4 separate regions of the Homo sapiens genome follow, and regions 1, 2 and 4 are each linked to region 3. The links are contacts of gene promoters, found by promoter capture Hi-C in blood cells and fetal thymus (Javierre and others, 2016). All regions are on one chromosome and are shown on one strand. Each heading gives the region's core, a stretch centred on a gene start or on the middle of the fragment in contact. The rest is flanking DNA. Distances are from core to core; before and after follow the strand shown.

Region 1 (7,035 bases), core at 1,983-4,482, 3.4 Mb before region 3:
TCAATTCTTTGTCTTTAATGCCTTAATTCAAGTAATCTACTTTTGAAGGATTATTTACAAACCAAAGCCAAGTTGAAATGTACTAACACTGGTTAAAATTCTGCAATTCATACTTTTAAACAAAAGATCCGCCAGACACAGTGGCTCATGACTGTAATCCCAGCACTTTGGGAGGCTGAGGCGGGCGGATCTTGAGGCCAGGAGTTGGAGACCAGCCTGGCCAACATGGTGAAACCCCATCTCTAATAAAAATACAAAAATTAGCCTGGCATGGTGGCACGCACCTGTAATCCCAGCTACTCAGGAGGCTGAAGCATAAGAATCTCTTGAACCCAGGTGGCAGAAGCTGCAGTGAGCCAAGTTGCACCACTGCACTCCAGCCTGGGATACAGAGTGAGACAGTCTTAAAAAAAAAAAAAAAAAAAATCCTTTTGTAATGCATATTTTACAAATTCATAATTTCATCATTTTTCTTAAAGCAAACTAAAACATAAATTCATTATACACAATTGTAAATTTATCCCCAAAGTGTTTTCTAAGGCTTCCAATTTTTAAATGAACCAAGGAACTGAATATTGACAAATGTATAAGTACCCTGAATGTGTTATAAAAAACATATTTGACTGTCTTTAAAATGCAGTAACATTCTAAGGAAAATACAGTAGCATCTTTCCACAGATCAGAGATTCAATAACTATTATGATTCAATCAAAGAGAAATAAACCATGGCCATTTTTAATTAAACAGGCATTTCTAAGCACCTGTGTACACGGTATTGCTGTTCAAACGGTTGACATGGAATGTGACCGCAATAACTTGATGTCCATAATTAAAGACCCAAAAGGTAGCTTAAGTTTCATCTATTTCCTTTCTCAGCCCTTTGAGCAGGTATATTATAGTCACTCCATACACGGTTAATATTAAAAAAAAATAAAAGTAACAAACATTTGAAATTAGTTGTACTTTTATAGAGAACAGTTTTAAATTGCATGGCCTTACTTTTCCTATTCCAACCTATTTTATAAAACTAGCATGATCTTAATAATTTCACTGCAAAACAGGTTCTAGCAAGCATAGAAACTGATCATAGCCTCTCAGCAAAATCAAGTTTAGATGAAACTCTAGGAAATTAGCAAAATTTAACAATCAATTCACCCACGATTCTCCACAATTCTTGCTCTCTCTAGATACGAAGGGAGGCAAAAACTGTTTTAAAGGATTATTTCAAAAGCAGCACTAATTTTGGGAAAAACTTAACTGCCATGCAGGAGACACTGTATTACTACTCAGACGTCATTTAAGTCTTCTAGCAGCAGAAAGGCAAAAACATCATTAAATTTTTTATTTAATGCATATATACTTACATTATCAGTTAAAGTTTACCCATCTGTTTACGTTGTCCAAGTTACCTATTATTTCAGAAAGCATTTAAATAAAATGAAATTAGGTTACGTTCTGCAACGCAGATGTGTCTCATAAAGAAGAGTGTTAAATGACTTTTGTGAATGGAAAATCTGCATATACTGTTGCTTCGCCTCAGCCAGTCTTGAGTGGGTGGTTCAATGAACCTAAAGCATGCTGCCTGTGAAGCTCCTTGGAACCTGATTCCACTCTTGAGAGAGGGCTTAGAAACAAACATTAAATTTAAAAGCACAGCAAAGGCTTGGCTTTCCTCCTACGTTACAAGAAGGCCGGGAGAACTGAGGCTTAGAGGAACAACACCGTGTCGCTTGGCTCTGCAAAGGCGGGTGCGGTCTGCGGTGCGCGGCACAGCCTTCTCTGGGGCTGTCACAGGAAAGAAGGAGCCTCGCCTTAACCGCACCGAGCGACAAAGCGCCAGCTCTCCTGGGCGCGGGGGCTCCCAACGAGGCCCATGCCATCAACCTATCAAACTTCAGGAGGGACAGACACCCGGGGCGGTCGAAATGCTCCAACAGCCTCCCACCCCCGTTCCCCTGCCGCGGCTTTTGTAAGGCTGCAGATGCACCTACTGTGGGCCCCTAAACACTCCACCCTGCCAGCCTTTCCAATCCCCCTACTCCAAAAGGGAACAAAGGAGCCAAAGAACTCCTCGGCGGGGGTGGCCAGGAGTCCCCGACAGCCCGAGCTCAGAACGTGGCAATAAGGGTGCGCAGTCGCCCTGAGGGGTGCGAACCCAGCACCCCAACCTCAGGAATGGAGCAACACTCACCCGTGCGGAGCTCCCAGGGAGGCGGGACGCAAGGAGCCGGTTCCTCCGAGGTCGCCGCGGCGCCGGGGTCCGAGGCCCCGTAAGCGTCTAGTCAGACCCCAACTTCTCTCGGCCGCTGTCGTCGGCGGCAGCTGGGGCGCGAGCCTGGACGAAGGGCGCTGCCCAGCGGCCGCGGAGGCACTGCCGGCTCAGCCCCCGAGCGGGGCGGGAACTTTCGGCCCCGAGGTCCACCAGCCCGGGCGGACCCCCACCTTCCCTCAGTCGGCTTGCTACCGGCAGCGGCTACTGCGGCGTCCAAAGCTAACACTACAGCCGCCGCCTGGCCAGGAGCGCGTCGCGGCCTAATGTTGTCATCCGCCGCGTCGCCGCCTTTCTGGGCACCCAGAACCGCGAAGATCCTTCACATTCTAGTGCCCTCCCCCTGCCCCGCCCGCCCCCCGGATCACGGGCTTCGGCCACGCCCTCTTCCCGTCACGTGACGGTGCGCGGAGGCGGTGGTGGAGTTGCTTCCCCTGCTAGGCGGGCTCGAACCGGGCGGGAGTCACTGTCCACCTTGCTTCGCCAGGGTGTTATCGCCAGCCAGTCCCCTTCCGCATGCCCAAGGGCAGCCTCAGGAAGCGAGCCCACCACCGTCGGCCCAGCGCCTGTTGATCGGCCAGGCCTTCTGGGCCGGTCATACTGGGCCCTTCCTAACCTGAGGAGATTGCACAGTAGGGCTCCCTGGTCTGGTCAGGGCTCAGTTAGGACCCCTCTCCAGCCTTAGGCTTGGTGAAAGCTTTAGCGAAACAGAAAAAAGAACGCATCGTGGTGTAGAGTGTATGGCCTAAGAAGCATTCGGTAACTAAACTACTTGTTCCTATTTCTAGTGGCACATTAACCGTGGCATTTAATTTACTGCTTTCCTCATTAGAGGTTTTTTTTTTTTTGAGGAAACGGTGTATTTCAATCATGCTGGGATGAAAACAGCCTAGCAAACTTATTTTTGTTCCTTGTTATGTTCAGGATCCTGCTGCCAGTTTTACAGTCATTAAGTTTTACAGTGTGTTAGGTTGGTGACAGTTTAAACGGGTACGCAGGAATTTGACAGTTTGTTCCATTTTTTAAAATAAAGCCTAATTCTTGATTTTTTTTCTAATGCCTTAATTTTTTTTTCCTAATTCCTTAACTCTAGGACTTAACCTTTTGCTTTCTTTTTTAGCCATGATCCGAAGAACCCTCTAGCCGCCTAATGAAATCCTAACTATACAGAAGTAAGGGAGGTAGAATAAAGATCATACTCAAACCCTGATCACAATGAAGGCAAATGAGAAAGCTTTCTGTAATAATTAAATTGGGGTCATAACTCATTTTCCCTTGTAGCCCAGAACTAAGGATTTTTTTCTTAAGCTATTCTCATCTCATTACATTTTCTTAACAAGAAATCAGAAGGCATTCTGATAAGCTGGATACATTGAAATGAATAAGCAATAGAGTTTGGCCTATATAATTATTATTAATATATTTCATAGCAGCTCTAAAAAAATCATAGACTTACATTGTTTTATGTTACCCAAGAAAGAAAACAAAGGCTGCCAATGAAACTATGCCATACCGCTGATATGTAAGGCACCTTTAAGCCACATCTTTTTCCTTTTTTTTTTGAGACAGGGTCTCACTCTGTCTCCCAGACTGGAGTGCAGAGGCGCAATCTCGGCCCACTGCAATTTCCGCCTCCCGGTTCAAGCGATTCTCCTCCCTTAGCCTCCCAAGGAGCTGAGATTACAGGCATGCGCCACCATGCCCAGCTAATTTTTGTATTTTTAGTAGAGAGGAGGTTTCACCATTTTGGCAAGGCTGGTGTTGAACTCGTGACCTCAAATGATTCACCCGCCTCGACCTCCCAAAATGCTGGGATTACAGGCATGAGCCACCGCGCCCGGCCTGAGACACATCTTGAATTCAGAGATGTAAACATGTCAGAAACAACGAGTCTTAGAATCTCTGAGATATTGTCATGAACTGGGAAACAACGAGTCTTAGAATCTCTGAGATATTGTCATGAACTGGGAAACAACGAGTCTTAGAATCTCTGAGATATTGTCATGAACTGGTGTTCCAAAGAGGAAAAGATTCTACCAGGTTCTGTTCTGAAGCCTGAGAGACTGTAGTACAAATAAATGTGAAGGAAGTTTATTATTCTGTGACATTATTTCAGCAAAGCTAGTAACTTTGGAGTTTGTTAACAGATTAACTTGTCTCCTGTTTTCTAGAGGCATGTTTTTCAACCTGCAACTCAAAAATCAATTTCATTTTTATATGAAATAGGCTAGGATGTAATACAATATAAAATACCAGAGTGCATAATGTCTAGTAAGGGCAAAAATTGCTTCCTGAAACTTTTTGTTTCAAATATGGTGGAAGGTGAGAGTATGTCCTATGTTGTGATTTAAACAATTTCTTACTGTGAGTTGCAATCAAATAGATTTGGAAAAGAATGTTCCTAGAGCATAGATAATATGCAAAATACACCATCTGGACCCCGTTTTTCTGGTACTTTTATTTTACTTTGGAAACTGAGACTAAAGATTAGAAAAAGGTGGCAAATTGCCTTGCCTAATTCTCTTCTGCCTCAGCCCCAATTTCATACATTGGCTTTTGAAAATTTGATCATTTGTTGGAAAAAGCAATGTACTGGAAGCAAGGAAGCCTAGGTTACAGACTTAGCTAATGAGATGTATGACTAGATAAATTACTCCCTGCATTTCAAGTTCCAATCAAGTAGGACCACATGCTGTTTGAGAAATGATACTAAACCACCTTTTTTTTTTCCCGGTGGATGGCAATCACATTGGAAACAAACAGACACGGTATACTCAGGATTATGCAAATTACTGACAGCCTACGTTTAACTTCTTTCAGCTCCACTCAAAAAAAAGAAAGTCCTAATGCAAGTAATTGAAAGTGAAGATATTGCAAAACAAATGTAAGTATATCTTTCACAATCTTCTCTACTTTGATTATCACTAGTATAATAGTTACTTGTCATGAATAACTAATGATTTTGACATACTTAACAACTGATTGCAACACAAAAATATATTAATCCACTACAGTTGAAAAATCATTTTTTCAGATCCTTTCAAATCTGATATTGTGATTCCAGGAATGATAATTCAATCTAGCATTTTCAATGTAATGACAACATAAACAGAAACTAATATGTGATCCTGCACTGTAACTGAAAAATATTCAGTAACTCCCAGAGATGCCCTGCAAGTTTGCTACTCTTACAATGATTTTAAGAATGACATTTTGAAATAAAGCTTTTTTATTATAACGATCCGATTTTAACTCCAATGAGAATTCATCTCTTTTGCCTACTGCTTTATTAATTATACATTTCTAAGAATGGGAAGTTCTTTCCAAATTAGTTTAAGCACTGACAGGCTTGACAGCCTTTCCCACAGTATATTTCAACCCTGACCTAGAATGACAGAGATGTTGCTTGAGGTTGTTTGCTTTTTTCCATTTGGCTTATCCCATTAGACAATTATGTTGCTGACAATTACTAATCAGGATTCTAGACTAAAATCCTCATTTTCTGGAAGAGAATTTAGATTAAGAGCAACCTCAGCCATAAATAAGGTATTCAACACAGCTTTGAAGACTTGTATTCTTGTTGGTCATGTGATTTGCTTTAGCCAGTGCTTTGTGAGCAGATGTTAAATGCTAAATCAAAGCAGAGGCTTTAAATTTGATTGCAAAATTCAGGTCAATCTCTTACTCTTGTGCCACCTGCCATGAGAAAGGTATGTTCCAGATAAGATCTCAGAATAAGAAAATAGATGGAGCAGACCTGAAACTCTCACCCTGTACAGAACTGAAGCAACTGACTTGCAGCTCCTGACATACGGCTACTGATGTGAAACAAGAGTAAAACAAAAATATTTGTTGTTGTGAATCACAAATATTTTTGAGATTGTTTGTTGCGTAGCATAATCTTGCAAATCATCTAAAGTGAATTTGAGCCAACAAACTCATGAGTCAAAGGCTAAATGTACTGTGGAACAATAATATTTGTCTATTTAATAAAATAAATAACAGACATCTACAAACTAGTCAACCAGCTATTTGGTAAATATCCACCTAAAATTTATGTTAAGAAGCAGTCTTTATAAAATCTGTAAATTTGCATGCAAAATGTTTGCATGTAAGATATTTACATACTGATTTTAAATATTTCTGTTTAGTATTATTTGTCTTAAATATCCCTTGAGGAAAATTTGGATAGTAAAGTATAAAGAGAATATAGGATTCTGTTTCTAGAAATATCAAGGACTAGTTCACACTTGTCACACTGAAAACAAAATCCCTGGAAAAAACATTTTTTAAATCTTATTAAATATATTGATTAACTGACAATAGGGTAAGAAATTATTAAGTTAAAAAACTAAATGAAGGCAGGAACCTAGAGTTTAGCAGAGTCAGCCAACTTTTATCTCAAGGGCATGTGCTAAACCCAGTTACTAGGAGCATTGGTTTTCGTGACCTTGTAAGAAAGACACAAAACCCATTACCTGCATTATACACACACACACACACACACACACACACACACACACACAAACAACTGCAATTCCAAGGATTATTAATTTGATGTAAGGATATACTAGAAATAAACTTGCTGCTTACTAGCATAGGCACCCATCCCCCAGAATCTACAAAGAAAATTAGCCGTCTTAAACCTTGGCACCTGGTGGACAGGGGAAAAGCAAAATCGTATCTGAGAATTTGGAACTGCAATCCAATTCTCACACAAAAACGTAGCTTGAATTCATACTAGCTGGGTGGTCCCCAAAAACTTC
Region 2 (7,265 bases), core at 3,434-5,933, 3.9 Mb before region 3:
TTCCTTCCTAAACTGAACTAAAAACAAAATCTTCCACTGAAGAGGGGAGGCAACTGACTGAACTAATTGGATACATAGAGCTGACATAAGGCTAAGAAACCATTACCCAACTGCAGTCACATAACGTTTCAGTCAACACAGGACTGCATATACAACAGTGATCCCACAAGATTATAATGGAGCTGAAACATTCCTATTGCCTAGTAATGTCACAGCTCAATTCATTATTCATGTTTGTGGTGATGCTGGTATAAACAAACCTACTGCAGAGTCATATAAAAGTATGGCACTTACAATTATTTACAGTACATAATACTTGATAAGGACAATAAATGATTTATTGGTTTATGTATTTACTATACTATGCTTTTTGTGGTTAGAGTACACTCCAACTTATTTTTAAAAAAGTTAAAACTGCCTACAGTATTCAACATAGCAACATGCTATACAGGTTTGTAGCCTAGGAACAACAAACAGGCTATACCATATAACCCAGGTATGTACTAGGCCGTACCATCTAGGTTTGTGTAAATACATTCTATGACATTCACAAAAGGATGAAATGGCTTAATGATGCATTTCCCCCAGAACACATCCCCATCATTAACCATGCATGACTGTGTATGTAAACAAATTCTATGCTGGAAGAAGACTTCATGACCATAACTGCTATACAGCTTTTCCCTAGAGCACAGTGGGATACAAGGTGGAGTGCTTTTGAATTTCATGCTGCTATGGTTTGAGTATTTGTCCCCTCTAAAACTCAAGTTGAAATTTAATCCCCTATGTGGCAGCACTGAGAGATGGGGGTCTTTAAGAAGTGATTGGATCATGAGGGCTCCACCCTCACAAACGAATTAATCCATTCATGGATTAATGTATTTCTTTATAAATTACCCAGTTTCCCACCAGGGGAGCTGGAGAGCCAAGCTACCCAGTTAGCACACTCAGCCCCCTCCCCATGTGATACCCTGTACTGCCTTGGGAACCTTCAGAGTCTCCACAAGTAAGGTTCTCACCACATGGGTCCCCTCGATCTTGGATTTCTCAGCCTCTATAACTGCAAGAAATAAATTCTTTTTTTTTAAATAAATTACTCAGTTTCAGGTATTCTAAGCAACAGAAAATGAACTAATATTCATGCTGATTTATAGCAGAACAGTGTAAGTCAACATTCTTTCAAAACCAGGATAAAAATTATCTCATCATAAGTTATCACTGCTCACGTACGTAACCACGGACGGGTTATCTAACCACTCCACACCTATTTTTTTTCCTTGTTAAAATGTTGATGCTACCTGTCTCTAAGTAAATTAAATGAGCTAATAATACACACAGAATTTAAAACAATGCCTGAATAATCAATCAGTGTTGCCTATTACATTATTTATCCCTGTTATGCTCTTCTGTACCCTCTTTAGAAAATAATTCCAAGACTGAAATTATAACTCTAGACAGGTGTGGTGGCTCACACCCATACACTCAGCACTTTGGGAGGCCAAGGCAAAATCGCTTGAGGTGAGGCATTTAAGACCAGCCAGGGCAACACAGCAAGAGCCTGTCTCCACAAGGAAAAAATATATATAACCCTGTTTCCCAATAAAAATTAAAATGTACAAAACTTCTGAATAAGTAAAAATATATACAAATATGCAGGAAGTAAAAGGCAGAGTTGGTAACCAAAGGTATAGAAGCCATTTTCTATGGCAAGCCCACTAATGTACTCTAATGTTCTGTAGTCATTGTGCTAAACGACTTACATATGGATAGGTGTAAAGTAACAACTCTCTCCTTCTAACCCCTATTCTGCCCAAAAACTTATTTAGATGAAACTAGTTTGAAATGGAACTTAAAATCATCAAATTATAACAGGTTCCTTTGTGTAAACGCTGTATTACTCTTTGACCCCTTTACCCTTTCCTTCCTTTATAGCTCTCATCACAATTTAACATTCTACATCTAAGCAACCAATTTGCCTCTTTTGCTCATGACATAAGATACATGTCCATACAGGTGCTAGATAGTTACCCAAAGACTAAACTGAGAACACAATTACAGGTTTGATTAAACTTGAAGATCTGAATACACTGATCATTAATATTTTGATATTGATGAGTCATTCTCTCTAATCCTTTGTTTCAAATTTACAACCAAGAAGTGAATAAAATATTGTATTTTGACATCTTCAGACCTTTGAAGTCCAACAGATACTGCTTCTTTAGCCCCTTCTACAAAAAGACCCTTAGTTTTGAATATATTTTGAGAATTTAGAATCAACTCAGTTTTACCAGGAGCCAACAGGAGCAAGCTGAATAAAATGAGATGGCATTTTGGATTACATTAGTTATGGTACAGGTATTCGTTTCAAAAATCTCATTAAAGGCCAAGTGCAGTAATTTACCATATTCAGTATTAGCTTTATAATTCTGCAAATCAATGGGCCTAATATAAAAATAGGCACTTTGTAGCAGATAAAATTTAGAAAGATATTCAAATTGGTATAGTGAAAACTTTTAAATTTCTATTTACTAACATAATGTTGACTTGGAGAATCTATGAAAGTCAGGTTTTATGACAGAAGATGTCCAAGTCCACCTACCAGGGTTTAGTTCCATACATTCTCCAAAGGACAGTATTCTTAGAACTAAACTATAGATTTAGGCCATTTATTTAAACTTGGGCAACTTCAAACAAGCTTGAAACACAAGAGTGCCTTGAAAATAACTGTAAAAGTCATTTACTTCCCTTCGATTTTTAAATGGTACCCTATACATAAAAGGTTTTTCCCTTATTCAATCAAAGGTAATGTATATTACTTCCAAAGTATAGGAGTATTAATTTAAGCTGACCAAAAAAAGAGGACCCAGATACTCGTTTCCAAAGATGTTTTGAATCCACCTATTTTCAAAAGGCCAAATTTCATTTTACAGCTCTTGTGAAACCAGGCAAGCAGTGTAAATTTTAAAATGCAGCAGTGGGATATCTTCAAATGTAGCAGTGAGATTTTTAAAATGTAGTTGTTTCAAAACTGATCAGTGACCGTCTAAAATACGGGCTCCTTGAGGACATCCTGCGCCTGGTTCATCCTTTTTGCACTCTCAAAGTCTAGCCTTCCCAGATGGGACCTCAGTCCCAGCCCCCCTACACTGCCATCCCCCAGATCTTTAGGGCAGTAGGGTTCATTGACAAGGTTGCAGGCTACAAACTTGGCAAAGTTTATACTAACACCTCATTCCATCCCACCTCCCATCTTAAAAAGGAAACCGTTAAGTATCTTATTCTAGTGACTTCAATAAAGGAACTAATTTATAAGACAGCCAAGAACAATTAAAGTCATAAAGGGCCAAACATTTTATTTTCATCTAAGAACCGTTTGCAGGGGTGGTCCGATCTTTTGGCTTCCCTGGGCCACACTAGAACTGTCTTGGGCCACACGTAAAATACATTAACTAGCTGATGAGCTTTTTTTTCCAAAAAAAAAAAAAAAAAAAAAACCTCATGAATTTGTGTTGGGCCACATTTAAAGCCGTCCTGGGCCGCGGGTTGGACAAGCTTGGTTTAGGGGTTTAGATCGATCAGGATCAATACTCCCCAAATAAAAAACCCTGATCAAGACACCCATCTAACAGTACCTGGGAAACACAATAACAACCTTTTGCTAATAACAGTTAATATAAGCGCTATATACGCGTTAACTTTTTAAAATACTAGCAGTGGAGGCCCTTCCTTATCATCAGCTAACATCCACAATCTCTGGTACCAATAAAAAGATTAAGACCAAAGAGAAGCAGGGAAGAGTTTGAAACCCAGGGACAGGGCTTACTCGCTTACCCTTCCTTTTCACATTCCACCGTCTCTACAACTTTCAAAGTAAGCACAGACCGAGGGCAAGGGTCTCCAACCAGGCCCAGCCAGTGGCCATGAAGCCCATTACCACGTGTGGAGCGAAGCCGCCGGGGGTTTCCCCTCCCCGCGCGGCCGCCCCCAATGGGCGGAGAGCCCGGGAGCGTCGCAGCCTCCCCCGCCCCCTCCCCGCCTCGGGGACTCGTCCCTCCACAGCCCCTCCCTCCCGTCGGAATTCGCAGCCTCCGCCGTTCTTTTCATCTCCCAGCGGCCTCCCTCCTGGTATTATTTTTGAGGGAAAAGCAGGGGGGTGTCCAAGAGGCGGCCGGCTCTGCACTCGGCCCGGCCCGTACGCCGGGGGCCTCCCGGTCCTCGCGGCGCAGCCGAGTCTCAGGGCACCCGGGCGTCACCGCGGCCTCGCTCCGGTCCACGCGGAAAAGACGGTGGAGCTCAGAGAACCTTAGGCCTCCAGGCCGCGCCAACCCCTACGTCGCCTCAGCCGTCCCCGATAAAAGCGCTGGTCGGCCCCGGGGCCCCTCTCAGGCTCCGGGGTCCGGACTCCGCGGTCCTGTCCGACCTCACAGGACGACCCCGGAGGCCACGGGCGGCCAGCGGCCCCGACTCCCGGCTCCCAGTCCCTCCATCCCTCCGGCCCTCCCATCTGCGCAGGCCGCCCAGCCAACACCACGTTCCCCCTTCCCTTCCAGGCCCCCATCCGTTACCGGCGACTAGTATGGGGAGCCAGGCGGCCGGAGCTGCGCAGGCAGTGACTCAGGGCGGCAGCGGCAGCAGCAGCGGGAGGAGCAGGAGGCGGCGCCGCGAGCAGATGGCGCTAAAAAAGACCCAAGAGCCCGCCGCTCGCGCTCATATACAATTAGCGTCAGCACGTAGGGCCCTTTCGCCGCCCTCCTCCCGGCCTTGTAGTCTCCCAGCAACGCGAGCGAGAGGCGGGTCCAGGCCGGGTTGCCTAGCAACTGAACCGTCCTCCTTCCCCGGCGACCTCCATACCCCCACCGAGGACTCCTGCAGCCCCGAGGCCCAGGCGCCGCGCTTGGGCTCCTCTGGTTCCCGCCGGTGTCTAACCTCCTCTGTTAAGCACCCCACCATATCTTTTCTCCCTGCTGAGCCGGAAAGGAAATTTCAACCCCATCAGTTGTGGGGAAGGCCTGGCCCGCGTGCCCGGCGCCCGGCCCGCCCCGCCCCCTTCGGCGTTGTGCTGGGAACGCTCAGGGCTGGCGCCAGTCGCCTGGTCCCTCGCTCGCCGCAGCCTAGACGGCGGACGCTCCCTGTCAAGGCCTAATTCCTGCAACTCGCCGGCCCCCGGTAACCGTTTTCCTTCCCCGCCTAAGAAAAACAGTTTTTTCCTCTAGACCACTTCGGCGGCCTCTTCTGACAGTTTTGCTTCTCCTATGCCAGCGGGTCTCCGCGCCTTTAGGGGGTGCTCGTCATCCTTTGCCCCCCAACCCCCCGCCACATCCTCGTAACTGATGTACAGTCCGTCAGTTCGGCTTCAGTTCTTTTGACGGATGAAAATGGCATATTTGTGCATTCTCTGGATGCGTTATAATGAGGACACTCAGTACGTCCGTTGTTTCATCTTTCTGAAAAAGTAAATCACATTAAATCCTCAGGCTTGTAAAACCTCATAGCTAATTTTCAAGTGATGATGAATTGACTAATACTAACTCAAAAAGTTGTTCTCAGAGTATGGTCTGAGGGTCCCCAGACCCTTTCATGGGGAAGGTCAAAACTATTTCCATATTAATGTCAAGACTGCCTTTTGCATTCTCATTCTCTCACAAGTGTACAGTGGGGTTTTCCGGAGGCTACGTGACATGTGATAAGGAAACAGACTGAAAATAGAAGCAGATAGGAGAATCCAGTCATCTGCGGTTAAACCAGACGTTAAAGAGATTTGCAAAAACTCGATTTGGGGGCAAGGGGGAGTAGTTATTTTTCATATAAAAATTATTTTTTGTTAATATTTGATTGCTTTATTGTTTTTAAATGAAATACTCTTAAAATTTCTCACTTTTAATTTCTGATATAAATATCAGTATCAGTAATGCACATAAAAGTTCTTTGGGGTCCTCAACTTTTAAAGGAGTGTAAAGGAATCCTAAGACCACAAAGTTTGAGAACCTCTTCTCTAAATCTTGCATTTATTGAAACTTCAAACTGCCTAGAATCCCCTATTGTAATCCACACATTTAGCAACTTTATCTTCCGTTTTAGGGGATACAATGTTTTCCTTGGCCCTCCAGAACCTCATTGAAATTATTTGCCTTCCCACTCTATACTGCAGACGACTCTGTTTATTCATTCATTTTAGTTTTTCATATACAATTCCTTTGTTGTTCTCATAGCCTATTCCTGTACACCCTTCTCAACAATGATGTAATGATACAAGGAGCATAATAGCATCAATAATGGATCTTCAGGAAGAACCCACTATACATAAACAAGGTAGACCAGTGCTCAGTTTGAACATAAATTTGACACATTAATTTCAATAAGAACTTCAGGAATGTTGCATTTTAATCAAAGCTGTGCACGATGCAAGGTAATTAGCATATTAAAATGAACTAAATAACTTTCACTTTCTTTCCATAAATCTTTATGGTAGCAGAATTTCTGAGACAAAATTGAGAAGTTAGCTTTTGTGGTGGTTTTTATCCCACACCAGAGAGCCTCATCAATTTTCGGCACTTCGCTCATGAAGGCTCTGGATTTTTTAGGTTTCACCACCCCCCCACCAACCCCTATAACTTAGGTGTTATCATTACCAGTACATATGCTCTTTCCCCCTTTTCTCCAGCTTCCTCTTCTTTTTTCAGTGTATCCTAGCCAATCTAAGAAACTAAACAATAAAATATTTCTAATAATGCATGCCTTTGTAATATAGTCTTTTGAACCAGTTTGTAAATCTAAGTCTTTGCCATTAAAGTTCAGGGAAGGGCAGACATTTATGCATTCATTCAACAAATATTTATGTCAGGCACAACTTCGGACTCTGGAAATACAGCATTTAGTAAGAAAGACACGGTTCTTGATTTTATTGAAGTTATGGTCTAGTGAGGTGAGGCAAATGATTAGAGATAAAATAATTTTACTAATAAAATATTAGTAATAAAACAATTTCACTTATCAATAATAAATAATTGATAAGTGAATGCTATAAAGAAAATAAAATGAGAAAAGGGGTAGGAGGTGACTGACCTGAAGATACCTTTGAGCTTTTTTTTTTTTTTTTTTTCGACGGAGTCTCACTCTGTTGCCCAGGCTGGAGTGCAGTGGCGCGATCTCGGCTCACTGCAACTTCTGCCTCCCGGTTTCAAGCAATTGTCCTGCCTCAGCCTCCCGATTAGCTGTGACTACAGGCAGGCGCAACCACGCCCAGCTAGTTTTTTTGTGTTTTTAGT
Region 3 (6,951 bases), core at 2,446-4,945:
TTGCAGAAATGAGGGAACTGTAAACTGACTTGGAAGTCACTGGCACAGAGGAAAAAGAAAAGATTTTAAGGCTAAAATCAACAGGCTAAACTCAAAACTGCTGGAGAAAAATCTCAGCCCTGTATTTTATGCACACCAGTATCAGTAAGAATCAGCAATAAGGCATTCTATATATAACTTTATTAATCTCCTTAAATCTTTACAAAATATGCTAAAATAGAGATATAATCACATACTGTAAAACTCTACCAGGTAGCTATAAAATCAGAAGCTGATTATTGCCCCATTGGTAATAATGAAATTCTACTCTAGACCTCGGTTCTAGAAAAACCAGAAATTTGTATCTATGGTTAACTTTGTGCTGTTTTGTAGCTTTGGGGGTCAGGTCCTGGGTAGAGTGGGTGGGGGAGAAAGGCTACTCTGGAGACTAAGATAGGAAATTTGACAAGAAACGCTGCTTTTTCTTCTATACAGAGGACACATTTCTATACAAAAAGAACAGCTGAAGACTGGATATCTTTTATAACTTCTAATGAGGTAGCACATTCAACAAATTAATAAACCTTTAAATATAAGCTCTTTAAAGTAAAAGCAAAATATTCGATTTTCAAAAGCATATTTGTGGGTTGTGATGTTCCTAAAACTTTTCTCTTGACAATGAAATTTAGAACACTTGATCAAAACCAGAAAGTAAATGAATATTCAAAAAACAATCAACAATTAACCCCGTTATACATTTTAGGTATTCTACGATCTTTTGAGAGGTTAAAGTTTTAAAGAACTATTCAAGGACTATTAAATCAGTGATTTTAGTTTTTACAATTAAGTATGGAAAACAAGCTAAGTTCAAGAGATTTCTTAAAGGCTTAAAATTTTCTTGTGTGTGTGTGGTTTTTAATTTTATTTATTGTCTTTCACTAACTGTTGTCCTAAATTTGCCCAAAGTGAACTCCCTGTTTTCATAGTAACAATGGGAAAAAAGTACAAGAGTTGATAAATAAGAAATGAGAGTGAAGAAAACATAACACAAATTTTTAATGCTTGATATTTTAAAGACTTTGGCTTCACCGATTTAAGGCATTTGCAGATATGGAAAAATGTTATGGAAAAGGGGAGGCGGTTGGAGATTATCGGGTCAAACCCACACTCACAGTGACAAAAAGTGACAGAAAGATATTACGCAAATGGAGTAAATTTAGAAACTTCTGTTTGTCAACTAAAACAAAATACCCAATAAAGATATATCTACACAACACCAAACTGACCACTGAATTCAGTTAATCAGGAAGACATTGGTAAGTCTGACAATTCTTGTAACGTGTGAATATTGAGAGGAGAAAAAAAGATCTTAAGAAGGCAGTTAAATGTATTTTCTCTTCCTCCCTAAACCAGTATCACAATAATGTAAATATCAAAACTTTTCGTCTTCCTCTAAGCCAATACAACTGGGTTCCTCCACAACAATAGTAACTTTAAATTTCTATTTGACAATTTGAATAAAACATATTGATGCGAACCATTATCCAATTATCCTGACCTCCTACAGTAATAATCGTCTTTCAAAATCTGTTTCACACTAAAACGTGTAAAGTACACTTGAAAGAAATTTGAAGATTCATCTTATATAATTACATTATCATTTTTAATGCCAAAAGTTTCCTTCATTCTCAACACCATGGTTTTAAAATTTTACGAGTTATGATATGCCTTAAATAAACTTCACCCAAATAAAAAGTTTGCTATGCATTAGAGAATCTAAATTAATGAAATTGAGAAAGCGCTAGACACCCTGCTATATTTTTACTGGGTGCCACATTTTTAATTCCATATTTGTCCTGCAATGTGTCAATCATTTCAATATATCCAGTCAACTTTGTAAACAAAGGCTATACTCCAAGTCTGATAAGAGAATTCCATTACACAAAATTTAAAATGGTCATCACTCCCTTAAACAGTAAGCAGGACAAGGAAAAATGTCACTACACACCTTTTTTTTAAAAGGCATCAAGTTAATATTCATGAAATATAAAGCCTTGAGTTTCAACCTCCCAAACAAGTTTTTACTACAACATTATTCAAAATAAGGCTATGCATCTTCCACACACAACCAAGGCAACTTTGAGATAGCTTACAAGTCTTTTCATTGTTAAGGGGAAGCTATCGCTGCAAAGTCATTTTCTATTACAGTTATTCCAAGTTGCCCGCTAAGAAAATAGAAAAAGCCTATGTTTTGTCACCTATTACCGTCACTTAAAAATTGCTTTTTATGCATAACTCTACGTGGTTGTGTTGCTTTTGGCCTGTTAAAGGCAAGGCAACATTATCTCTGGATTGCCAATAGTTTCTCCTTATTTGGCTAACATTGAGAGATCCCAATCAGACTACTATAAAACTTTAATATGCACAAAGCATCCATTTTGAGAAAAGTTTGTGACCAGCTTTCTTTTTTCCCAACCCCAAAAGAAAAACCAGAGCTTGGTAACCGGCTTTGAAAAGAGTGTCCCCTATTTATTCTTCTCTTTCTAACACCAGTGCACACCCGAGGACCTGGGGCTCAAGGATCTCTGACACTGCGGCAAACTTCGAGTATCAGACTCAACACGTTCCGGTCCGGAGGTGGGCAAGCCCTTTAGAGGGCTTCCTTACTCTACCCACTTCCATCCCCTTCCTTTCAGCCGGTGCAGATCAGCTAATTACACCCTGTTTTCCCCTCCCCAGTGACCAAGAGTAATAAATGAGAAAACAGGAAATCGTTCGTTCAGGGCACTCGGCTTAGGGCTCTAGATTACTATTATTATCATCATTTGTAATCAAGTCCTAAAAAGTGCAACAAATCCAATGCCCACCTACAAGTCAAAGATGTTCATCTGCCTAACCGTCCGTAATGCCCCTTGTTAGTTTTCTTCCTTCAGCATCCACCCCTCCGAATATACCACTGACACCGGGGCCCAGGCACAACCCCACTACACCCCTCCTTGTCTCGACCCCAAATCCCAGACTTATCCACGAATGGCCCTGGGGCCCCAAACGACCACAGTTCCTTTTCCCCTATGCCCCGGAAATCACCCGGTTCCCAACTCCACCAGCAACTGTTCTGAAGGGGGGCCTCAAGCCCAGCGCCCTCCCTTCCACCAGCTCTCCCTCCCGCCCTCTGGGGAAACCGCCCCCTCACCCCGCAGCAGGGAGTCTCCCGCCGCCCCCAGCCTCAAGAGGTGGAGAACTGAGGGCAGGCCCGAGCAGGAGGCCGACGAGAACCCTCACGGTCAGGAGAGCCGGCGGCGGGGCGCACAGACCTGGTGCAGGGCAGTGAGTCCGTCCACATTGGCGTAATTGATGTCGGCGCCGCGGTGCAGCAGCTTGAGGACCTCGTCCGTGTCGCCGCTGGAGCAAGCAGCCAGGAAGACGGCGCCATCGTCGAACTTCACCTTGGTCTTCTGGCGCTTCACCACCGGAGGCTCGAGGTCCGTCTCGGAGCCGATCCAGCGTTTCAGCTGCTCGTTCCGCTTCTGCTTCGCGTCCGCCATCTTCATCCCCTCTCCTGCCGCCGGGTCTTCTTATCGCGAGGGGGGGAAGGGGGAGGCGGAGAGGGAAGAGAGGGGAGGCAGGGGGTGTGTGAATGTTTCTATGAGTGCGGGCCAGAGGAGGGCTGGGAACCCGGAGCCGACGCTCGAGACTTCCAGTATCCCACAGAGCACTGGGGCGGCGCACCCGGCCGAGCGGACCTCCCTTCCTACCACAGAAGCCCTCCCGCCCCCAGCACGGCCACCCGTCACCGGCGGCCAATCTAACGTAACTTCGCGAGATCCGGACTGGGAGGCGCCCTTCGACCAGTGCGCATGCGCCCTGGGCCTGTGCCCGCCCCAGGAAGAGCGCTCCCGCGAACTGCGGCGGTGGTGGCTGGGCCACCAGAGGGAAGCGGGTGTGGCCCAGGCAGCGGGGGCTGGGACAGACCTGGAAAGGAGGAAGCGGGGAAGGAAGGTTGTCCTGTCGGGCTGGGGGCTCCCGGGAATCCGGAGGCCAGCAGTGGAACCGCAAGGCTCTACAGGGCAGATCTGCCTCCCGTGCTGTCTCAGCTACGCCGAGTCGTTGGCTCAGGGCGGAGGATTTTCCTATTGGCCGCGTTATTTGAATGGAATGGAGGATAGGTCGTGAAGTAGGTGCTGCTGGTTGATCTTTCTAAGGAACTCAGATGAACTTGGGCATGTCAGAATTAATAACCTTTTAAAAGTGGGGTCTGTGTGGCCGAGGGTTTTAATGGTAAGTTCTTGAGGTGACCACCTATTGACAAGGGTTGACCTGCTGTAATTGCTGTGGCTTCCTGCCAACCCCCACTTTAGAAATGTTTTTCTTCCTCTCTTTACTTGTTTTGTTTTGCTTTCTCTCACGCTTGGGTTCTCTTCTTTCTTCCTTCAGTGCTTTAAGCCTGTCTCGTACTACCCATGAGCTTAGCTCAGCCTGATTACTGGTCCTTACCTTTTAAGGGATTTCTGGTTACAGCTCCATCTCTTTCTAAGGAGGGGTAAAGACCTAGCTGCGTCTAGCATTTAAACGGAACGTTAAGGAAGGCAATTAATTCAACCACTATTTATTGAATACCTACTATGAGCCAGTAACTGTACTAGGCACTGAAGATACAATGAAAAATATGACATTTATTTGAACCACCTCTTGAGTTCAGTCGCCCAAACAAGACTAATTTATCATCGTCATAAAAAAAAGACTTTAACTTTGCCTTGTATGACCACACGCGCACACACATAGGATTTGTAATACTGATGTCTTATGAGCCATCTATCTACAATCTCCACCAATTGATTTTACTGAACACTGCATTGTTACCATCCACTACTATTTTTAGAGCATTTAGAAAAGCCAAGATAAAAACCACAAAACCTTACCATGGAAGTTTAGGGGTCATCTAGACAGAGTCCCTCAAGAACTAATTAATTTACTTAATTTTACCCAGAAGTAGGATTAGAATTCACTCAGCAAATACTATGCACCTGTTCTGGGTCAGGCATTGTTCTAGGTGCTGGAGATAGAGCAGTGAACAAATAAGCTTTTCTTACTCTCAGCATGATGCCTTTTCCAGTGGACTACTTCACAGCCTATCATATTGAGAAATAAAATAATTGAGTAAAACGTGATTAGGAAACTGTCTGCCTGTGAGACAATTTTCTGAACCACAGTTATTAGGATAGCGATAGAATCCAGGTCAGGGTAAAAATATTTCCTCTGAAAACGTTGTAGGAATAGAAAATGAATGTAATATTCATAAGATATACCATTGTATGTTCATTACATACATTAAAGATAACATCAGACCTTTGAATACTCATGGTGTTAGGTACTGAAAAACATTGTTAGCACTAAAATACAAAATCCCTATCCACAGAATACAGCTCTCAGAATAAAAGAAAGGAACTTGAGGATTGCCTTGTCAGCTCCTGTCTCTACCTAGGCAACTGACAGCATATCCTGTTTTCCAAGAACGTTATGGCCTATGTGGTAGCTCTTAAAGTGCCCTTGCAGTATAGATGGGAATCTGAAGATTTCATTCAGGCAAAAGGAATTTAGTGGGAAGTATGCTATTCCTGATTCAAGCACTTATTTCAGGATGCAAAATTAATAATAGTTTATTAATAAAACATAATTAAGTTCATTCAGTTCCCAGAAGCTGTCAGGGAAAAAACAACCAAGGAGGGCTGCTATCATGTGCAAATTTCACTGAATTTAGTTTTTCTTCTTTCGTGGCTCTAAGGGTCAAGATGCTCTATGTTAATATTGAAAGTACTCTGAAACTGCCACCTACTTTGTCTTTAGGGAGGATTTTTTTTAAATTGTTGTTAGTGAATTAATGGTACTGAAGACCTTGGGTTAATTCTAGAACAAGCAAAATTTTTTATTGACACACACAGTCCCAGCACAGTGGCTCACACCTGTAATCCTATCACTTTGAGAGGCTGAGGCGAACTCTGCCCAGGAGTTCGAGGCTGCAGTGAGCTCTCTGCACTACAACCTGAGCGACAGAGCTAGACCCTATCTTTACCAAAAAAAAAAAAAAAAGACACACACACACACACACATGCTTTTATTACATATTTGTCTAAGCAGAACAAATGGAAAAAATGCAAATATTTTCACTTCCTAATGGCTTCTAAACAGATTGGGATGTGAGGATACATTTTAGCTCCTTTAAAGCAAATTAAGCCTTAAAATAGAAGTACAAATAAAACTATACTTACTAATTTGCATATATGTATATATAAAAATATATTTTTGGCTGCACCAAATCAATCATATTGGAGGTTTTTGTTTCTGAGACAGGGTCTCACTCTATCGCTCAGGCTGCAGTGCAGAGGCATGATCTCAGCCTCCCAAGTAGCTGAGACTACAGGCGCGTGCACCACCAGGCTTAGCTAATTTATTTTTTAAGTTTTGTAAAGATGGGGTCTACCTATGTTGTCCAGGCTGGTCTCAAACTCCTGGGCTCAAGTGATCCTCTGCCTTGGCTTCTTAAAGTGTTGGGATTACAGGCTTGAGCCACTGTACCTGGCTGGGGGTTTTATTTATTACATGCACAAGATTGTCAGAATGAGATCTGTGTATATCTTTTTCAAAGTTTAATCACACTACTGACATTCCTTACCATTAATTTGCTTGCTAATTATGATCAACTTAATTTAAATTATAAACATATTTGAAATGCTGACATGCACAGCTTAGATTTGTTTCTGCTATTATAATCTCTTTGTTAAAAATGTACATAAGATATTAATAAATACTTTGATATATCTATGTTCTCTTTATCCCTAATTTAAACCTGAGATACTAATTTACATTTATACACTTGAGAATAGAACAGTCAACAAGGACCTTGTTTCTGTCTCCTGTATTCTACACCTGGGCCAAACTCTCTTCCATTGCATAATAATTTCTTTCCAATGTTTT
Region 4 (7,137 bases), core at 2,589-5,088, 3.2 Mb before region 3:
ATCTCAGCTCACTGCACATGCCGCTCCCGGGTTCACGCCGTTCTCCTGCCTCAGCCTCCCGAGTAGCTGGGACTACAGGCGCCAGCCACCATGCCCGGCTAATTTTTTGTATTTTTAGTAGACATGGGGTTTCACCGTGTTAGCTAGGATGGTCTCGATCTCCTGACCTCGTGATCCACCCGCCTCGGCCTCCCAAAGTGCTGGGATTACAGGCGTGAGCCACCGTGCCCGGCCCACAATAAAAAAAATTAAATGGACCAAGTAATAATTCATTGAGGATAATAACAACAGAAGAAACGTGGTAGAGGCAAAGAGTAGTAGATGGGGAAAATTCAGGAGGCTTCCAGATGATTCTGCTACCACCTAGTTTTGTAACTTTAAGAGAGTTTCTTAAATTCCCCATCATTTCCTTTTTTGTGAAATGACTAAATCTGGATAATCTCTATGCTGTCTTTAGCTCCAGTAGTGTCTGAAGTTACATATGAAACTATATTTATACAACAATGCCCCATGCCTTCCAATCTGTTTGCTTCTAAATCCATTTCACAATTATTCTCTAACAAGGTCTATTTTTCTCTTTGAATTTTATTCTTTTTTAGCCACTATTCTGCATTCCTCCATAATTCTATGCCATTCTTTTGCCAGTCTATCCAATCAGTGTACTTTCTTAGCTGTCTCCTTAGTCCCCTGAATATATTTTCTCAATTTGAGCTATAGATAAGAACTCTACAGTTATCAAGATGGACTCTGATCATATCTAAAGGGTTTGCTTCAAGATTCAACTTCAACATGTTTTCCTAAGCATGCCTGCTTCTGCTCTTGATCTCTTTCTTCAGTTCTTCATTTAATAACTATTTATTTTAGTGCTCCAGCAGTAAGCAAGACAGACATGGACCCTGGTTATGTTGTTCCAACTTTTCGGCTGCTTTTAGTATTTTCCTTATATTTGAATTGTGGAATTCTCAGGAGTAAAAATATCCACAGAGCCAGGCAGGTAATGAGAACGAGTAAAGCAGGCCATAGACCTGGTAGAGACTGAGCAAGAAGGTCAAGATGGCTTGTTTGCCAGATGAACTAGAACTCTAGATTTTAAAGTGAACTCTGATTTACTGATTTTCGCAGGGAAGGCTAAACATTTCTTTTATGAATACTCCACATCATATACCTGTACCAATATTCCTAATACATGGGTACCTGAAACATTTTCTCCAGTTTTCCATGCCTAGTTTCTTTACACTCTCACTTCATTCAATGCTTTATTAATATTTATGCCACTTAACTTTTTCAGTCGGTGTCCTTTATTTACTCTAATCTTCTATTTCTAGTCAATGCAAGACATAAAGGTAAGGAAGGGCAAGATTCAAAATTGAGATTTTTGGCCGGGCGCAGTGGCTCACGCCTGTAATCCCAAGATTTTGGGAGGCCGAGGTGGGTGGATCACGAGGTCAGGAGTTCGAGACCAGCCTGACCAACATGGTGAAACCCCATCCCTACTAAAAATACAAAAATTAGCAGGGCATGGTGGCGCGCCCTTAATCCCAGCTACTCAGGAGGCTGAGGCAGGAGAATCGCTTGAATCTGGGAGGCAGAGGTTGCAGTGACCTGAGATCTCGCCACTGCACTCCAGCCTGGGCCGCAGAGCAAGAAAGACTCCGTCTCAAAAAAAAAAAAAAAAAAAAAATTGAGATTTTTGGCTGGGTGCGGTGGCTCACGCCTGTAATCCTAGCAATTTAGGAGGCAGACGCGGGTGGATCACCTGAGGCCGGCAGTTCCAGACCATCCTGACCAACATGGAGAAACCCTGTCTCTACTAAAAATACAAAATTAGCCGGGCATGGTGGCGCATGTCTGTAATCCCAGCTACTTGGGAGGCTGAGGCAGGAGAATCGCTTGAACCTGGGAGGTGGTGGTTGCAGTGAGCCGAGATCGAGCCATTGCACTCCAGCCTGGGCATGAGTGAAACTCAGTCTCAAAAAAAAAAAAAAAATTGAGATTTTTGAGTGAAAATGACTTATGTCCATGTTAACATATGACTGAAAACAATTCGATGCTCCAAGGGCCGACCCTGAGACTATCTAGCTGTAAAAGATGACTCCTAGTTTGGGCCAGGACGAACAGAATGAAAATCAGCTCGGACTGAAATGAGAAAAAGTAGTTGTGCTGGGAGGACAGATACAGAAAAAGCCAGCAGCAAAGTTAACTGAGAAACTTCTTTCTCCCACAGCCGTGCAGTAGCTATGACACGCCATATTCACCCCTCTTTGAGTAACTGCTGCTCTTACTAGTGTTGCTACTTTATTACTGGAGGTACCTAATTACTAAATTGCTGTATCCTCAAGACAGCATCCAATCCCTCGTAAATCCCAGCTTTTCTTCATGCCGCCACGGAAACGGCGTCCCATGCAGAACTGATTCTGGCTCTCCTTAGACCCTCCTCAGACTCCTTTGGCGGGAAACTAATCTTACAAAGGAGGCTTCCTCTTTCCTTTTCCAGTGGCATTCCAAGCTTCCTTTGGAGTGCCCTCCCTCCTGATTTACAAATTGGCCTGACGTTATCGGAGTACAGGCTTTTTCCTGGTGGTTTCTGGCCTAACAGGAGACAGATTAGTAAGTACCAGGATCTCTAATAGGTCAACTTTCATGATCTCTGCTAAATTCTCAGCTGTTTAGACTTACAATTTTTAACAGCTAAAAGGAAAGACAAATGCTATCTAAAACTGTCCCATCAGCCCATTTACAGGGAGCACCTCCCCCATACCGCCCTAAAATCCTTTAAAAAATGGCTTTAGTCATTTTATCTGCCTTGCATTTAAGCGAATTCAGTTTAAGTGGCTTCAGTTCTGAATTCCTGGATTATATCGAAATGTTGCAGATGGCGGTGTGTGGGCTTTGAGCTCGTAAATTTTTTGTGTGGTACTAATTCAAGACGATTGAGAGCAGGTTGGGATCATTTTAAAAAGAGTTCTCGGCAGGGTGTGGTGACTCAAGCCTGTAATCCCAGCACTTTGGGAGGCCGAGGCGGGCGGATCGCTTAAGGTCAGGAGTTCGAGACTAGCCTGGCCAACATGGTGAAAACCCGTCTCTACTAAAAATACAAAAATTAGCCGGGCGTGGTGGCGTGCACCTGTAATTCCAGCTACTCGGGAGGCTGAGGCAGGAGAATCGCTTGAACCGGGAGGCAGAGGTTGCAGTGAGCTGAGATCGCGCCATTGCACTCCCGCCTGGGCGGCAAGAGCAAAACTCTGTCTCATTAAAAAAAAAAAAAAAAAAAAAAAAAAAAAAAAAAGGGTTCTCTAGTAGGAAGTCCCGAGTTGTATCCATGTTTTTCCGGGCGTCCCCCGGAGGGACAGGTTGCGGGTGACCTTTTCAAGTGTGGAGGAAAGGGAAGCTGCTTTTGTCTTCAGGAATGATGCAGGTCTCGACTCAAGCCTGACGGGCCCAAACCTCCCTGGAGCTGGCTGACGACTCTGCCCGAGTTCCTGAAGAGGGGTCCCGGGGGTCCCGGAGCGGAAGTGGGAGCGCGTGGGCGTGGGCTCCTCGGCTGCCTGGGGCTCCAGACTTGTGCTGCGTGCGGCTCCGGAGCTCTGTTCTCGCTCCTGAGCAGCTGCTAGGTTTCCCAAGCGACTGTCTCAACCGCCCGGCCGCCTCCCCCGGGCAGCCAGAGCTTCACATCTACCTCCAGCCGGGACCCGCCCCCGAGCCGCGGGGCCCACGCCCAGAGCCCTCCGCCGTCCCCAGCGCAGTGCAGCAGAGCGCGATCCAGTCTGGGGCCGGGCCGCGCTTCCGCGCACGCGCGGAGAAACCCGCGCCCTCCGAGGGGGGAGGGGACAGAGGGGGCGTCACGGGGGCAGGAGAAGAAGGAGGAGGAGGCCCGCGTCGCCTCCGGCGGGGCTCGCGCTCGCCCCGCGCTCGCCCTCCGCCTCGCCCGAGCCCCGGGAGGGTGAAACGCTTTCTCCCAGCATGCAGCGGGAGGAGGGATTTAACACCAAGATGGCGGACGGCCCGGATGAGTACGATACCGAAGCGGGCTGTGTGCCCCTTCTCCACCCAGAGGTGAGGAACCGTGCTGAGTGGATTCCTTGCCCTGCGGCCCTCCAGCCTTTCTTCCCCGGACTCGCCGAGGGCGGCGGCCGACGTGTGTGGGGTAGTGGGACGTGCCGAAGTTGGGGAGGGTGGGGAGGCGAATCCAGGCCTGAGCGCGGCTGCGAGCGGATAACGGGGGAGGAGATAGCGGGGCGGGCCCGACCGGGGCGGGCTCTGGGACGCAGTCCCTGGCTGTGCCTGGAGGACAGAGGTGGAGGTGTTGATGGTTCTGCTGTGTCGCCGCGCTGCGTTTGAGAGCAGAGGCGGAGGGGCCTGGTGTGGTTTTTGAACCGCAGCTTAGACCCTAGTCTTGCTCCAAGCCTCTTGGGGCCAGGTGGAAGCGCGTCTGGTTTTGATTTCTTTTTCCTTCGCCAGGGTGAATGACGGTATCTATTGCTTCCTTTTAGTCCACTGTGAGGGGACAGTTTCATGGGCATAGTGATGTCCTTCCAGGTAATGCCATGGGTAGCACCTCGGGCACCTTGTGTCGGGCGTCCTTTTTTGAGCATTTGTCCTTAAGCGATTAAGAAGAGAGGTAAAAACTTTTGGGAATAGACTTACACTCACATTAGCTTGTCAAAGTACCGTTTTTCTAGGAGCTAGGGGTGGACAGTGCAACACGTTTCCCATCACAACATGAGTGTCTTCCCATGTAAGTAAACAGTGCCCCGCTCCACAGTCAGTCAGTCTGTGCTTGTTTACCTCCGAGTTTGTAGCTGAGCTAGTGCTAGTTAAGGCTTGGAAGCAATTCTTGATGCATTCTGATTTTTAGTGATCCACAGTGATGTCTGTATGCGGCAGCGGCACAGTTTGCTGAAGAACTCGGGTAGTTTTCATGAGGTTAAAAGATGACAGTCGTGTTGTAGGATGAACAAACATGGAAGTCTCTACCTGGTTACTTTGCAATGGAGTGATTCTGTTTTTTTCTGGATTTGGGTTTGTACCATGCCACTAGTTTTTGTTAAAAAGTGAATAATGACAACCATCCTTTTATGTTGCATGTTAACACTCAACCACCCTCTCATTCGTCACTTTGGTTTATCAAAAACACATGGGACAGTTCCTTCGGAATATATACCTGTGCCAGTCTCAGTAGAAAAGGCTACTCTGGGTTTCTGATAAACAGAACTATACAGTAAGACTAAACACTTGTCTGACCAAAGTGGTAACATTTTCAGAACTGGCATTGTAGACATCTCTTTTGGTTCACTTAGGCCCTAACATACGTCAGGAAATAGACAAAGTAGTTTTCAGATGTTGCCTTGAAAATGTTGCTAAGTGATTTCTATTCATCTGTTCCTGTGAAAGTATTCGTGAAAGTATTTCAAACACTTAAGTGTTTATCCAGTTTATTTTTTTGAGACGGGGTTTCTCCCTGTCCCCCAGGCAGGAGTGCACTGACACGATGACAGCTCACTGCAGCCTCTACCTCCAGGGCTCAAGTGATCCTCTCCCCTCAGCCTCCTGAGTAGCTGTGACCACAGGCTCGCGCCACCATACCCGGCTGATTTTTTTATTATTTGTAGAAGAAGAGGTCTCCCTATGTTGTCTAGGCTGGTCTTGAACTCTTGAACTCAAGTGGTCCTCTCACCTTAGCTACTTAAAGTGCTGGGATTACAGGCATGAGCCACCATGCCAGGCCTATCTTACGTATTTTAGCATACTGTTCTTCATAAACCTTTGCTTTGTAATATAGTACTGTTGTTTGCTACTTTAAGAATAATTTTAACTGGCAACAAATCCAGATTATTTGGTGTAGTAGAATGGCCAGTATAGGCTTGAAATTTAGCTACCGATCTTCAGGTTGCCATTCGATAGATAGGATATTACTAGAAAGTCAACCTCCTCATCATTGATAGTGGGAATTGGCATACATAATATATACCGTTCCTTTTTACCCAAGAAGCACAAGGTCTGATTATTTTAATACTTTGGATGGACCTTAAGCTTGTACTACATGGCTGAGGTCTTTCTGCATTTTCTGTGGTTAGTGTGTGCAGCTGGTGCAGACCTGGGGTAGTTCTGCTGCCTCCTAGCAGTGTGTTCTTGGGCAAGCTATGAATACGTCTCTGAGTTCTAGTTTCATCATTTATAATGGATAAAAATAATAGTTAATAAGCTATAGCGAGGATTAACTGAGATAATATGTTTTTGTTGTTAAAATAAGCAGTGTTTTCAGTCTCCTTTGGGAAGAAACCCATTCTCTGTCTTGGTAAGTAATGAAATAATAGTACTTTTAACCTCTTTTTGGAGAGAACATAGACTTTGGGTCAGACAGACTTGGATTCTAATTCTGGAAATTCGGTAACTAGCTAAGTGACCTGAGACAAGTGCTTAATTTCTTTAAGCTTCAGTTGTAATCAGAAAATGGAGATCCTGGCTGGGCTCGGAGGCTCACACCTGTAGTCCCAGCACTTTGGGAAGCCGAGGTGAGAGAATCACTTGAGCCCAGGAGTTCGAGACCATCCTGGGCAACATGGCAAAACTCTGTGTCTACAGAAAATACAAAAATTAGCTGAGCATGGTGGTACACGCCTGTAGTCCCAGCTAATCGGATGCTGAGGTGGGAGGATTGCTTGAGCCTGGAAGGTTGAGGCTGCAGTGAGCCATGATCGAGCAGCTGTACTCCATCCTGGGTGACAGAGCAAGATTATGTCTCAAAAAAAAAAAAAAAAGAAAAGAAAAGAAAATGGAGATGCTGCCTAGTTTACTTGGCTGTAAGGGATTAAGTGAGGCTATATGTTGAGGGTCAAGAACTGGCACATTGTAGGTGCTCAGTTAATGTTACTTCTTTTTTCTCTACCAGAAGAAAGGGAAGTGTTACACATTTATTTTGGTTTTGGTGACTGATTTAAAACTTATGTGGGTTTTAATTTAGTGGAATAGGATCTTGCAGGAACAAATTTCATTTCACTTTTTATCTTCCAATTTAATACTCTCACACAAAAACAGTTTTTCACTTTAGTATTTGTTAAGCAGATGAATTATTTGTGGGTAAAGAAATGAGCATTGCTTAAATCTCTTATTAGTATGCAAACTGCCCACTGTTAAAAC

The links. The method cuts DNA at HindIII sites, captures the fragments that hold promoters and counts their contacts. A CHiCAGO score of 5 or more calls a contact.
Region 1: a fragment that was not itself captured here is called in contact with the fragment with the promoter of PPP1R12A in region 3 in 2 of 17 cell types (total B cells and total CD4 T cells); the score reaches 6.6 in total B cells.
Region 2: the fragment with the promoter of NAP1L1 here is called in contact with the fragment with the promoter of PPP1R12A in region 3 in 2 of 17 cell types (non-activated CD4 T cells and total CD8 T cells); the score reaches 7.8 in non-activated CD4 T cells.
Region 4: a contact is called between the fragment with the promoter of ZDHHC17 here and the fragment with the promoter of PPP1R12A in region 3, in 6 of 17 cell types (non-activated CD4 T cells, neutrophils, total CD4 T cells and 3 more). The highest score is 12.1, in non-activated CD4 T cells.

The regions. Positions count from the first base shown.
Region 1 is chr12:76,557,206-76,564,240 of GRCh38, forward strand. It overlaps OSBPL8 (oxysterol binding protein like 8), which reads right to left and starts at 2,566. Exons shown (of 24, transcript NM_020841.5): 1 at 2,192-2,566. It overlaps LOC105369850 (a long non-coding RNA gene), which reads left to right and starts at 2,697. Exons shown (of 4, transcript NR_188081.1): 1 at 2,697-3,028; 2 at 5,090-5,153. RefSeq lists an enhancer at 1,487-1,796 and a silencer at 2,207-2,396. The HindIII fragment of the contact is 537 bases long and covers 2,965-3,501 here.
Region 2 is chr12:76,080,002-76,087,266 of GRCh38, forward strand. It overlaps NAP1L1 (nucleosome assembly protein 1 like 1), which reads right to left and starts at 4,684. Exons shown (of 15, transcript NM_004537.7): 1 at 4,566-4,684. LOC124902970 (a long non-coding RNA gene) reads left to right here and starts at 5,084. Exons shown (of 2, transcript XR_007063379.1): 1 at 5,084-5,166; 2 at 6,210-6,732. RefSeq lists silencers at 3,999-4,068, 4,119-4,178, 4,249-4,298, 4,439-4,518, 4,959-5,118 and an enhancer at 4,414-4,955. The HindIII fragment of the contact is 5,148 bases long and covers 3,551-7,265 here.
Region 3 is chr12:79,931,402-79,938,352 of GRCh38, forward strand. It overlaps PPP1R12A (protein phosphatase 1 regulatory subunit 12A), which reads right to left and starts at 3,696. Exons shown (of 25, transcript NM_002480.3): 1 at 3,294-3,696. The coding sequence starts at 3,530. It overlaps PPP1R12A-AS1 (PPP1R12A antisense RNA 1), which reads left to right and starts at 3,880. Exons shown (of 2, transcript NR_146535.1): 1 at 3,880-4,153. RefSeq lists enhancers at 2,516-3,081, 2,882-2,941, 3,082-3,645, 3,282-3,581, 3,628-3,922 and 1 more and a silencer at 3,112-3,201. The HindIII fragment of the contact is 9,894 bases long and covers 1-5,057 here.
Region 4 is chr12:76,760,277-76,767,413 of GRCh38, forward strand. ZDHHC17 (zDHHC palmitoyltransferase 17) reads left to right here and starts at 3,839. Exons shown (of 17, transcript NM_015336.4): 1 at 3,839-4,053. The coding sequence starts at 3,961. RefSeq lists enhancers at 3,337-3,436, 3,733-4,027, 4,003-4,845, 4,037-4,186 and a silencer at 3,577-3,986. The HindIII fragment of the contact is 3,524 bases long and covers 2,505-6,028 here.